Regions from separate parts of the Homo sapiens genome. Here all the other regions are linked to region 1. Evidence: promoter capture Hi-C in 16 types of primary human blood cells and fetal thymus (Javierre and others, 2016). All regions are on one chromosome and are shown on one strand. The core of a region is centred on a gene start or on the middle of the fragment in contact, and the rest is flanking DNA. Distances in the headings are between cores, read along the strand shown.

What was found. Contacts are between HindIII fragments. The CHiCAGO score rates a contact against its expected background, and 5 or more counts as called.
Region 2: a contact is called between a fragment that was not itself captured here and the fragment with the promoter of NKRF in region 1, in 1 of 17 cell types (neutrophils). The highest score is 5.5, in neutrophils.
Region 3: a fragment that was not itself captured here is called in contact with the fragment with the promoter of NKRF in region 1 in 1 of 17 cell types (fetal thymus); the score reaches 5.1 in fetal thymus.

What each region holds. Positions count from the first base shown.
Region 1 is chrX:119,604,035-119,608,529 of GRCh38, forward strand. NKRF (NFKB repressing factor) reads right to left here and starts at 2,390. Exons shown (of 4, transcript NR_163972.1): 1 at 1,697-2,390. RefSeq lists a silencer at 1,924-1,973 and an enhancer at 2,514-2,623. The HindIII fragment of the contact is 11,769 bases long and covers 1-4,495 here.
Region 2 is chrX:119,835,375-119,839,869 of GRCh38, forward strand. It overlaps UPF3B (UPF3B regulator of nonsense mediated mRNA decay), which reads right to left. Exons shown (of 11, transcript NM_080632.3): 9 at 2,993-3,153; 10 at 2,383-2,677. Among named protein-coding and RNA genes, the nearest start is that of UPF3B, 15 kb to the right of the region's middle. The HindIII fragment of the contact is 5,356 bases long and covers 1-4,495 here.
Region 3 is chrX:119,815,037-119,819,531 of GRCh38, forward strand. It overlaps a transcript of UPF3B not described here. Among named protein-coding and RNA genes, the nearest start is that of RPL39, 26 kb to the left of the region's middle. The HindIII fragment of the contact is 984 bases long and covers 1,789-2,772 here.

The sequences.
Region 1 (4,495 bases), core at 1,140-3,639:
ATCCCCAAAGTTGTTGTAGGAAATGAAATAATAAATATTTAAAATGTGTTGTACATCATAAAGCTGTATACATCCACTCACTCCACACACATTTATTGAGCAGCTATTATTTAGCAGGCAATCTTCTAGGCACTGAGGATAAAGGTGTAAACAAGAAAGCAAAATCCCTATCCTTAAGGGAGCTTCCATTCTAGTGGGAAGGTAAGATTTATTATTAACACAAAGGATAGTTATCCTCATTTAAGTTTTTGTTTTTATTTTAAGGATTCAGATTTCCGACAGCCTTCTGTGATATTATGGAGACTTACGATTATAGGATAAAGGTAACTTTTGAACTCAAGAACAACACTGTTAGGCAAAGGTCAAGTAGATTTATCTGACTTGTTCAATAACTAAGGCTTCTTCAGTTGTAACCAGTTCCTCCTAATCATTATCTCTGGAGGTAGAAATTATGCTAACCTTGAGAAGACAGAAAAGTAATGTCTGTGATGAGAGCAAAGTATATCACACTGAATGCCATGTTCAATAATTAAGGGCAGGAGGAGACAATCCTATTTTTCTGCATCTGTTACAGTCACTCCTGGAACTGAACTGGCCAAAATTGACATGATCATATTCCAGAATCTCTCACCCTTCCTGATTTAAAAAAAAACAAAAACAAAAACAAAAACAAAAAACTATGATTGCAGGAATGTCAAAAGAAGTCGTCTCCCAATCTATCAAAGAATGAATAGTCTAGTATAGGGCCGATTTAGGGGTTCTGAAGGACAGAGGTCCAAGTAGCCTCTTCAAAAAAAAAAAACAAACAAAACACGCTGCGTTGGAACCATACTGCAGTCTCCATTGAATGCAAAGAGCTTTCAAAGAGGCCTGTTCAAAACGTCACCAGGTTCTAGGAAAGGGGGGAAAAACAAACACACACACACCCCCACCCCCACCACAGACACACACACCTAAAACCTCACTCAGAGCCAAATGTTAATCCTTCTGATCCCATTTAGGGTAAAAAGAGGGCAATCCATTTTTACAGTAGATATATCCATTTCTTTGTTTGAGTCCAGACACATTATGCGCAAATCTACAAGCAAGGCTGACGCTGCTGCGGCTCAGAGAGCTGATACGTACCGCCTCCCCAGGAGAAGACAGTAAGACCCTGCTAGGGGGCTGCAAGTAGAGGGGGGTATTTAAGAGGAATGGAAAAAGAGAGTGGTCAGGAGGAGACTAGAACAGTGGGGTCCCCTCGCCCTTCCCCCACAACTCCAACTGTCGAATATATTCTCTGCGGATACTGCATCCTTGGAAGGCCCTACGCAGGTCCGAGATGCTGCTATTCATCATTCCCCACGTCCTCTAATACCGCCACCAACTACAATGACCACCTCTCAATAATCCTCTTCTAGGCGCTGCTTCATCTCCATCCCTGGTCCTGGAGAGGCCGCTTCCGCGATCTCTGCACCCTCCTAGCTGTTATGTCATGCCCAGCCACCACAGTCGGCCACCCCACCCCCAGGCCAATAGTGATCCCTCTAGTGCCCTCCAGCACCTCCAAATCTCCAGCCTCCAACCTATCCTCCGCATCCCGCCCCCGTCCCTATCCCAACCACCATCATCGATCCCTCCAGCGCCGTCCCTAACCCGATCCCCCATCACCGATCTCTCACCCCCGTCCCTAACCCGACACCCACACCTTCCTCACCTGCAGCCCAGGAAGACGTGGTTGGTCCAGGCGGCGGAGAGCGCGAGGAGCTGGTCGAGGGCAGCCCCGGGATAGCTGTGCAGGTGCCGACAGATGAAGCTGCGCCGCAGAGCCCACTGCCAGTCACTTTCGTGGCTATAGCGCCACTGCTCCAGCACTGGCTCGGGCGGGGGCGGCGGGAGGGGCGGCAGCGGCGGCGGCGGGAGGGGGGGCAGCGGCGGCGCGACAGGAAGTCGCCCCCCAACAGCAGACGTCCTCCAGCCATCTTCTCCGCCCCCAAGCAGGGACCCCAGGGACGAAGCCGACTACGGACCGCGAGCTAGGCAGCTAGCAAGCGGGCGGAAACGGGGGGCCGGTGGGAGGGGCCGGGTAAGGAGGGGCGCGCTGAGGGGAGAAGATCAACTCTCGGGGGGACTGGAGTGTGTGCGTGGGGGCCACCGTTAGGAGGAAAAGAGGAGCACGAGCTCGCGTCCCGACACTGGGATGCACGTCCCCTACACTCCTCTAACTCGTGGAGGAGCAGAAGGGCTTCCGCCGCACTCACGCGCGAGCCGGGGAGGCCGAGTCAGGCTCCGCACCTCCACGGATCCGCAGACCCACGCACTGCGCGGAGAGCGATAAAAGACCCCAGCACGCTCTGCTCCCCTCCTCTAGGTTCTAGCCTACCTACCCGCGTGCCGTCCGGGGTTGTGAGGCCAGTGCGCTTGCGCCGCGGCTGTTCCCTAACTTCCAAATCCCGTCGCAGAATCTCGCGCGACGTACTTTTTTCCCTCCAGTGACGACTACGGGCCTTTGACGCACTACGGTGACAAGCGGAGGGCGGGGACTCCAGAAAGGGAATTTAGGAAGGTTCTCTGAGGTTCGAGAATATGGTTAGAAGGTGCCCTCAGATGAATGTTGGTAGCCCACGGCTCGTCTGACGCTTTTCCCTGGATTTTTAAGCGGCGCGACAGTGAGACCATGTTCCTTGTAAGGGATTTAGGTCTGCACTGGACTTTACATTAAAACAAAACAAAACAGTCAGCTCCCCGAGGTGCCTTTTCTTCAGAGAGTAGCTTGAAATGCTCTGTGCATCGTGCATCATTAGCTTTGTGTAATAGCTTACTGCGGAAACGTAGTAAAAATGAAACACTTGCCAAGAAAATCATCCACAGCGCCGCTTCTCAAGTTAGCCAGTTTCAAGTCCATACTGTATCCCAATTACGAACACAGATACTGTTTACACAGTTCTGATCACGATTGCAAGTCTGTATTTCACGTATCAACTTAAGTGCAAAAGATTACAAGATACAAAAGGGGCCCACAGAAGAGGGTACTGCAAGGTAGAGCCGCTCAATCACTGTAGCCAAATGTATCACTCCACCCGGAGTCAGCTTCACTCAATAACTTCAGTCCCTATCTGCCAACCTGTGTCACGAAAGCAGTTAATCAATGAGTGTCTGTCGGCGGGAATTTACACAGCACCTACTGTGTGCTCAATACAGCAAGAGTACAAAAAAGAAGGAAAGAAAGTGGGTTTTCTCTGTTGTCCTGGAATTGACTACAATCTTGGTGGGGAGAAATAGCCCTGCATAAAACTAAATGTTCCACCAGGAGCCGGACCATTGGATGAGGTGGCTTTAACACACTACCATCTTTAACTCTTTAATGACGTATTTCTAATTATATGACACTTTATGTTAGGGGTGTATTAGACTGAGAGGAGCAGAAGATAACAGCACTTTACACACTTTCATAATTTATTTCCACGTCTGTCTTTCTCCGTGGTGGGCATTCATGTTTATTGGGGTAACAATCGAAATGTTTTTAAAAAGTTCACAAGGTGATACATGCTGTGAAGAAAATAAAACAGGCTGGGTGCGGTGGCTCACGCCTGTAATCCCAGCACTTTGGGAGGCCGAGGCAGGAGGATTACTTGAGGTCAGGAGTTCGAGACCAGCCTGGCCAACATGGTGAAACCCCTGTCTCCACTAAAAATACAAAAATTAGCCGGGCGTGGTGGCAGGCGCCTGTAATCCCAGCTACTCCGGAGGCTGAGGCAGGAGAATCGCTTGAACCCGGGAGGCAGAGGTTGCAGTGAGCCAATATCGCGCCACTACACTCCAGCCTGGGCAACAGAGTGAGACTCTGTTTCAAAAAAAAAAGAAAGAAAGAAAACAGAGCAGTGCAAAGGCAAATGACTGGGGGAACACTAGATGAGGAGTCAGGTGACCTAAATTCTCATCTCATCATTGCCAACAACTATCTCTACAGCCTTCGGCAAGACACTTCACCTCTGTGGCCTTATTTTTCTCACTCGTACAATCATTACTTGAATTTATTATCTCTAACCTTCCTTCGTAGTACTATATTCTTTGATTTGATGGTTTAGAGACTAACATTACCTCAATAAACATGAATGCCCACCATAGAGAAAGACAGACATGGAAATACAGAATTCTGAAACTGAAAAGTGCTGTTATCTTCTGCTCTTCTCAGTCCAATACACCCCTACGCATAAGGTGTCATATAGTTAGAAATATGTCATTAGAGAGTTAAAGAGGGCACTGAGTCAAAGCCACCTCATCCAGTGGTCCTACTGCTGGTGGCACATTTAGTTTTACATAGGGCTATTTCTCCCTACCCAGCTTGTAATCAATTTCAGGACAACAGAGAAAAACCACTTTCTTTCCTTTTTGTATTCTTGCTGTATTCCACTGGAATGTCAGTTACATGAAAGCATGGAACTCATCTGTTTTGGTCTTAGCACCTATACCTTGATCCTGCAGGCACTCCAGAGATATTTGTTGAATTAAATGC
Region 2 (4,495 bases), core at 1,125-3,624, 230 kb after region 1:
ATAGGCACGCACTACCACACTGGGCTGTTTTTACATTGTTAGTACAAACAAGCTCTCCCTATGTTGCCCAGGCTGCTTTCCAACTCTTGGGCTTAAGTGATCCTCCTGACTTGGCCTCCCAAATTGTTGGGATTACAGGCATGAGCCATCATGCCAGGCCCTAAGTGCCAGTTTTAAAGGAAGCACAGAAGACAGAGGAACACGTTAAATAACAGCATGGGGATGTAATCTGCCAATTCAGAACAGGAAAAGCCCTACAAGACAAATTGGTTTCTGCAACAAATGGTAGGAAAACAAGAGAAGGGGAAATTGTTTAGATTAAAAGAAAACTTGGCTGGGTGCAGTGGCTCATACCTTTATTCCCAATACTTTGAGGGGATCGGCTGAGCTCAAAAGTTTGAGACCAGCCTGAGCAACATAGGGAGACCTCATCTCTACAAAAAAACTTAAAAATTAGCTGGGCATGGTGATGCATGCCTGTAGTCCCAGCTACTCTGGAGGCTGAGGTAGGGGGATGGCTTAAGCCCAGGAGGTCGAGGCTACAGTGAGCTGAGATTGTACCACGGCACTCCAGCCTGGGTGACATAGCAAGACTCTGTCTCAAAAAATAAACTAAAAACAAAAGAGAACTGAAGAAGACATTTCAAGGAAGCATAATTTGTGGAATTTGTTTAGGTCCTATTAAAAAAAAGACATTAGGCTGGGCACGGTGGCTCATGCCTGTAATCCCAGCACTTTGGGAGGCTGAGGCGGGAGGATCACCTGAGGTCAGGAGTTCGAGACCAGCCTGGCCAACATGGTGAAACCCTGTCTCTACTAAAAATACAAAAATTAGCCGGGCATGGTGGCTTGAGGCTGTAGTCTCAGCTATTCGGGAGGCTGAGGCAGGAGAATCACTTGAACCCGGGAGGTGGAGGTTGTGGTGAGCTGAGATCATGCCACTGCACTCCAGCCTAGATGACAGAGCGAGACTCCATCGCAAAAAATAAATAATTAATTAATTTTAAAAAGACATTAATGAAGCAATTGGGAACATATGAACACTGAATAGACAGGACGTTAAGGAATTATTGTTAGTTTTTTTTGGTGTGAAAATGCTACTAGGGTAATATTAATAGAGTATTTATCTCATATACTGAAGTATTTAAGGAAGAAATTATGTGCAGGGTTTGTTTGAAAATAATCTAGTAGGGGTAGGGATGAAGTAGAATAGAAAGAAGGTTGGCTATGAACTGCTGGGTGATGGGTACAGTACATGGAGTTCATCATACTATTCGATTTTTTTTTTTTTTTTGAGACAGAGTCTCGCTCTGTTGCCCGTGCTGGAGTGCAGTGACGCGATCTCGGCTCACTGCAAGCTCCGCCTCCCAGGTTCACGCCATTTTCCTGCCTCAGCCTCCCGAGTAGCTGGGACTACAGGCGCCCGCCACCACGCCTGGCTAATTTTTTGTATTTTTAGTAGAGATGGGGTTTCACCATGTTAGCCAGGATGGTCTTGATCTCCTGACCTCGTGATCCACCCGTCTTGGCCTCCCAAAGTGCTGGGATTACAGGCGTGAGCCACCGCGCCCGGCCAGTTTTTTTTTTGAGACTGAGTCTCGCTCTGTTGCCCAGGCTAGAATACAATGGCGTGATCTCGGCTCACCTCAACCTCCACCTCCCAGGTTCAAGTGATTCTTCTGCCTCAGCCTCCCGAGTAGCTGAGATTACAGGTGTGCGCCACCACATCCAGCCGATTTTTTGTATTTTTAGTAGAGACGGGGTTTCACCATGTTGGCCAGGCTGGTCTAGAACTCCTAGGCTCTAGCAATCCACCCACCTCAGCCTCCCAAAGTGCTAGGATTACAGGTGTGAGCCACTGCACCTGGCCCATCATACTATTCTCTATTCTACTTTTGTGTATGTTTACAATTTCTATAGTAAGTTAATAAAAGCCCAGCCAAGACTGAAATAAAAGTTGGTCAGGCGTGGTGGCTCACGCCTGTAATCCCAGCACTTTGGGAGGCTGAGGCAGGTGGATCACGAGGTCAGGAGATCAAGACCATCCTGGCTAACACGGTGAAACCCTGTCTCTACTAAAAATACAAAAAAATAAGTCAGGCGTGGTGGTGGGCGCCTGTAGTCCCAGCTACTTGGGAGGCTGAAGCAGAAGAATGGCGTGAACCCAGGAGGCGGAGCTTGCAGTGAGCCGAGATTGTGCCACTGCACTCCAGCCTGGGCAACATAGTCAGACTCTGTCTCAAAAAAAAAAAAAAAAAAAAGTTGCAGATGATTAAAGTTCCCCTTTAAAAATTCTATAATAACAGTGCCCTTTACACTTTCTTTACACTTGCAGGAAAAGGGAAAAAAACCCTCATAAACAAGTTTAATGACAAGCAGCACCTTGTTTCTTATTCGATCTCTCTTGACCACTTCTTCTTTCTTTTCAGTTTTTTCTGAGCTGCCTATTGATTCTGTACTTTCAGCCTTCTTTCCTTTATCCCGAAGTGTGTCTTTCTCTTTTTTCATTTCTTCTTCTTTTCTCTTAAAAGTCTTCTCTTTCTCATAGCGCTCCTTCTGCCTACGGCGCTCTTCTTCTTGCCGCTTCAGCCTCTCTCTTTCTCGAAGTATGCGCTCCTGATCTCGTTCATATTCCCGTTCCCTCTCCCTATAGTCTCTGCCGCTCTCATCTTCAGGTCTGCATGAAAAACAAATCTGAGACAGAACCCTGAAAGATCTTGTAATCACAAATGCAGGAACACTGTGATTCTGATTTGGCCCCTGCAATGAGGTTGCACTTTTAGAGCAGAGTGAAAAATACTAGTGTTTTAAGAAGGAACAAAACCCCAAAACCATTCACCCAGATTAAGATACAAGAATATTCTGAAACTGTTCCTCCTCATCCCCCTGCCCTGCATAAAACAGCTTATCTTAATTCAGGTACATGTCCAGGACATAGCAGCAAAACTAGCATGTATAAATCAAACATAACAAAGAGTCCTTGACTACTGACCTCTTTGGTTTTTCATCTTTAAGTTCGCTATCAGAACGCTTGGGCAATGTACAACTTTGCCCACTGGCTCTTTCATCACTGAGATTCTCTTTGTCCAATTTCTTGGCTTTTTCTCTTTTGTCCAATTCTTTTTCATCTCCTTTTTCTGGCTTCTTGAGCAGCTTTAAAGATAAAATGTTTATTTTTATTTTGAAGGCTGGGACACTATCTTCTATTAAAAACCCAGTATACCAAATATTTAAAATTTAGACTAGACAAAGCCCCCTATCTCTGCAGGTACACTTAATCTTTCAGGTGAACAACTAGTGCATAAGAGTAGTAATTTACTAAAAGGATGCTATTAATGTTAAAGTGTTATCCACTTGAACGAAGTGGTTTAATCACTTTGTGGCAATAGGATCAAGACTCCTTTGGCTTTTATTCTGAGGCAGGGTCTCACTACTCTGTTGCCCATGCTGGAGTGCAGTGGCATGAACATGGCTCACCGCAACCTTGACCTCCTGGGCTTAAGTGGTCCTCCTGCCTCAGCCTCTTGAGTAGCTAGGACAACAGATGCACACCACCACATATGGCTAATTTTTTAATTTTTTTGTAGAGACAAGGTCTCATCATGTCACCCAGGCTGTTCTCAAACTTCTGGGCTCACACCATCCTTCTGCCTCGGCCTCCCACAGTGCTGAGATTACAGGTGTGAGCCACTGTGCCCGGCTTCCTTTGGCTTTAAATGGGTCAACCTTTAAGTGAACCAATGCATACTTCAAAGTATGCTTCTGTAGCAAACCAGCATGTTGATATAACTTAATGGGAAACAGCCCACAAATTTTAAGTGATAGGCAGATCGTTTCTGTTGGGACTGTTTTTATGTAGTACTTGGAATGACAAATACCTTGGTCACCAAAGGAGAGATCCATTGCAGGAATAATTTTGCCTTGAGCCTGAGAATAACATACTTATGATGGTACAATTATCTTGCCATTAGAGATTAATAACAAGAATTATTTGGCATTTGATTTAAAAATCTAAAGGCCTTATACAACCAAATAGTGAAGTTCCATCTCTACTGAGTAGGAACTCTGTATTTAATGCCATATTTACGCATGTTCAAAAATGCCATTGTTTTTTACATTGCTGCTATGAATCTCTCGAGAATACCTCCAAGTGTCGGATAATCAGAGAGATTCTTAGGCAAAATAGAAGAATTTCAAGTCTCAGAGTGAAGGTATCACACAAGGTTCATCTCAGGGTGAAGGCATCATGTAAATTACTAAGCAAAAGGCAAAGCACCACAAGACATAAGCACAAAGCATTTTGGCACACAGACAGCCACTGCAAATGGTGAGTCCAAAATGGACACTGAGAAGGCACCAGTGTAAAATGAGGATACCATGTGCAGGTTTCATTGGAAGTGCTCTTATTTCTCCAATGAACATCCTTATTAGAAACCAAGGTGTTCATTACTCTAATAAGAACATTAATGAATGTCTCTAGCATGGCTGGCTCTAC
Region 3 (4,495 bases), core at 1,031-3,530, 210 kb after region 1:
TGTATTTTCAGTAGAGATGGGGTTTCACCATGTTGACCAGGCTGGTCTCAAACTCCTGACCTCAGGTAATCCACCCGCCTCGGCCTCCCAAGGTGCTGGGATTACAGGCGTGAACCATCACACCCAGCCTCTCCTCTTCTTTTGTATGGCTAATACAACTTTCCTGCTTTCTTTCTACTGCTGAATCTCCAGACTTGGTTATGTCATCAGGGTGCGAGAGTCGACCTTGGCTTCGAGCTCCTGGATGGTAACGCTGCATCCCTGGATGATTCTGAAGTACAATGAAATATGTTACTGTTACAACAATGCTGCTAAGCTTTTACGTGGGATTTTCAAGTCATAACTTATATATTAATATATACTAAAGTCCAGTCATTTAAGACCAAAAATGTGAAGGCATGGTAAATGACAACTTGCCCACTTCCTCTCTCCATTTCCAAAGAAAAGCAACCATTTCCTAATTATTATTTTATAAGCCTGGTACAACTTATTTTTCTTAGAGACATGGTCTCATTTTGTCACTCAGGCTGAAGTGCAAATGGCAAGATTGCAGCTCACAACAGCCTTGACATTCCAGACTCCAGCCATCCTCCCACCTCAGCTTCCTAGTAGCTGGAATTGCAGGCACGCTCTACCACACTGGGCTAAGTTTTAAAATTTTTAATAGAGATGGGGTCTCCCTATGTTATCCGGGCTGGCTTTGAACTCCTGAAGTTAAATGATTCTGCCACCTTGGCCTCCCAAATGCTAGGATTGCCTGCATAGACGAAGTTTCGCTCTGGTTGTCCAGGTTGGAGTGCAGTAGTGCAATCTCGGCTCACTGTAACCTCTGCCTCCCGGGTTCAAGCGATTCTCCTGCCTTAGTCTGCTGAGTAGCTGGGACTACAGGTGCACACCACCAAGCCCGGCTAATTTTTGTATTTTTAGTAGAGACGGGGTTTCACCACGTAGGCCAGGTTCATCTCCAACTGCTGACCTCAAGTGATCCACCTGCCTCGGCCTCCCAAAGTGCTGGGATTACAGGCATGAGCCACCATGCCTGGCCTATAGTTATTAAGGACATGAAATTATGCTTTATGAGGAAGTGGTCCTCACCCCCCTTGCCTGCAACACAAGAAAGGAGAGCAAGGGAGCAAAGTAGAAGAAAGGTGGCACTGGGGAAAGGATATCAATTCAAGACTGATGGTAAAAATTGCTTAGCAGGAGTGAAGGCTCTCCTGTGGTTTCACCAATTGATCTGCTTGAGGGATTTTCTCCAGCGACACTTGCAGCTTAGGGGCAAGAGGCTCCCACAACACCCTGTGCTACCGCGACCCTTCTGACATTGTGCATCATGATCTGATTATTGCTATTTGCCTCTTGCCAACACTGAAACATGAGTTCCACGTGCACAAGGACTTATTTGAATCCCTGACCCCAGGGCCTGGCACACAGTCAGTGATTGGTACATGTTTGCTAAATGAATGAGCAAATGGAAGAAATTGAAGAGGGTGGGGTGGGGATGGGTGATTTATCCAGAGCTGGACAGGCCAGGCAAGTAGAACAGAAGAGGGAGGTGCTGACATGAAAACAGGCTAGACAAAGAGGCAAGGATGTCAACTCATGCCTGGGGGTTCAGGAGTGTTGCTTCTCCTAAGGCCAACTCCTCTAACCTCTACCTTGGCTTCCATTTTCACCTGCCTTTGCAGGAAGCCTACAGTATTCGTTGTCTCTTTCTCTTGAGTATTCATCCTTGTAGAGCTTACCTTTTGGCTTCTAAACTTACTTACTTTCTCATATTTAAAATAAAGCTTCATTAACACCATTAACCTATGTATCTCCATTTCTTTCACAGCTATATTAATTGGTTTTCACACTAGTAGAAAAAATACCCAAGGCTGGGTAATATATAAAGAGAAGAGGTTTAATTATTTTATTTTATTTTTATTTATTTATAAAATAAATAAAATATGTGACGTAGTCTCGCTCTTGTCGCCCAGGCTGGAGTGCAATGGTGCGATCTCGGCTGACCACACTTCTGCCCTTCAGGTTTAGGCGCTTCTCCTGCCTCAGCCTCCTGAGTAGCTAGAATTACAGGCGGGCATAAGCACACCCAGCTAATTTTTGTATTTTTAGTAGAGATGGGTTTCGCCATGTTTGCCTGGCTGGTCTGGAACTCCTGACCTCAGGTGATCCACCGGCCTTGGTATCCCAAAGCTGGGATTACAGGGGTGAGCCACCAAGCCCAGCCGAAGAGGTTTAATTGACTCACAGTTCCACATGGCTGGGGGAGCCTCAGGAAACTTACAATCATGGCAGAAGGGGAAGTGGACACATGCTACATGGCAGCAGACTAGAGGTGAAGTGCGAGCATAGGAAAAACTGCCTTGTTTAAAACCATCAGATCTTGTGAGGCTTACTCACTATCACAAGATCAGCATGTGTGAGACTGCCCCAATAATCCAATCACCTCCTACCAAGCTCCTCCCTTGACACATGAGGATTACAGTTTAAGATGAGATTTGGGTGCGGGAACAGAGCTCAATCATATCAACAGTCATATGAGAAGTCTTCAAAAAGTCCATGGAAAATGTGTATTATCAAGAAACTATGCATGGATTGCAAAATCTTTTGGCATCAAAATAAACTGGTACTAACTCGTTAAAAAATATCTCGACAGGATCTAGTTTGAGGCATTAAAAAGGAGAAAGCATCAGTGTGAAAAGAGCTCCTATCAGCGAAAAATGGATTCTGCTAAAATTGAAGGAAGAACAAACATAAAATTTAAGATGAAGCTTGGGTGGAAGAACGGTAAAATCACTGATGCTTTACCAAAAGTTTATGGGGACAATGCCCCTAAAGAGATCAGCAGTTTACAAATGGATAACTTGTAAGAAAGGACAAAATGATGTTGAAGATGAAGCCTGCAGCAGCAGGTCATCCACATCAATATGCAAGGGAAAAAATTAGGCCAGGCGCAGTGGCTCACACCTGTAATCCCAGCACTTTGGGAGGCCGAGGCGGGTGGATCACAAGGTCAGGGGTTCAAGACCAGCCTGGCCAACATAGTGAAACCCCGTCTCTACTAAAAATACAAAAATTAGTTGGGTATGGTGGCATGAGCCTGTGGTCCCAGCTACTCAGGAGGCCGAGGCAGGAGAATCGCTTGAACCCAGGAGGCGGAGGTTGTGGTGAGCTGAGATCATGCCACTGCACTCCAACCTGGGCAACAGAATGAGACTCCGTCTTAAAAAACAACAACAACAAAAATCCTCTTCGTGCTTTAACTGAAAAGCATCGGCTGGGTGTGGTGGCTCACCCCTGTAATTCCAGCACTCTGGGAGGCCAAGGCGGGCGGGTCATCTGACCAACCTGGCCCACGTGGTGAAACCCTGTCTCTAATAAAAATACAAAAATTAACTGGGTGCGGTGGCAGGTGTCTGTAATTCCAACTACTTGGGAGGCTGAGGCAGGAGAATCATTGAACCCGGGAGGCAGAGGTTGCAGTGAGCCAAGATTGTGCCACTGGCCTCCAGCCTTCGTGAGAGACTAAGACCAACTATTAATGGCAGAAACAACAGCCATCACCATAGACATCACAATTGGTTCAGCTTACACAATTCTGACTGAAAAATTAAAAGTTGAGCAAACTTTCCACTTGATGGGTGCCAAAACCAGATCAGCTGCAGACAAGAACAGAGATTTCAACGGAAATTTTAAACAAGTGAGATCTATTACGTTGCTGCATATTAATTGTGGTTTATGCCATGGAATGTCAAAAGCCGCAATTACGTTGGCACCAACCAATAGATCATGAAGCATCTATTGGGAAAGTGTAACGGGAGGTGATACGTGGCTTTCCCAGTATGACTCTGAAGACAAAGCAATATCAAAGCAATGACTCTGAAGAGGTGGAAGAGATCCAGTCAAAGCAAAACTGGACTGGCCAAGAGCAAAGGTCATGGCAATAGTTTTTTGAGCTGCTTGAGCAACTCTCCTTATTGACTTTCTGGAGGGCCGAAGAATAGTAACACCAGCTTTTTTTTTTTTTTTTTTGAGACCAAATCTCACTCTGTCACCCAGGCTGGACTGCAGTGGTGCAATCTCGGCTCACTGCAACCTCTGCCTCCCAGGTTCAAGCTGTTCTCCTGCCTCAGCCTCCTGAGTAGCTGGGATTACAGGCACGCACCACCACGCCTGGCTAATTTTTGTATTTTTAGTAGAAACGAGGTTTCACCATGTTGGTCAGGCTTGTCTCGAACTGCTGACCTCGTGATCCTCCCATCTCGGCCTCCCAGAGTGCTGGGATTACAGGCATGAGCCACCGTGCCCGGCCAACACCTGCTTATTATAAGAGTGTTTTGAGAAGGCCAAAGCTTTAGCAGCAAAATGCCCAGGAAAGCTTCACCAGAGAGTCCTTTTCTACCACGGTAATGCTTCTGCTCGTGCCTCTCATCAAACAAGGGCAATTTTGAGAGTTTCAATGGGAAACCATTAGGCATCCACCTTACAGTCG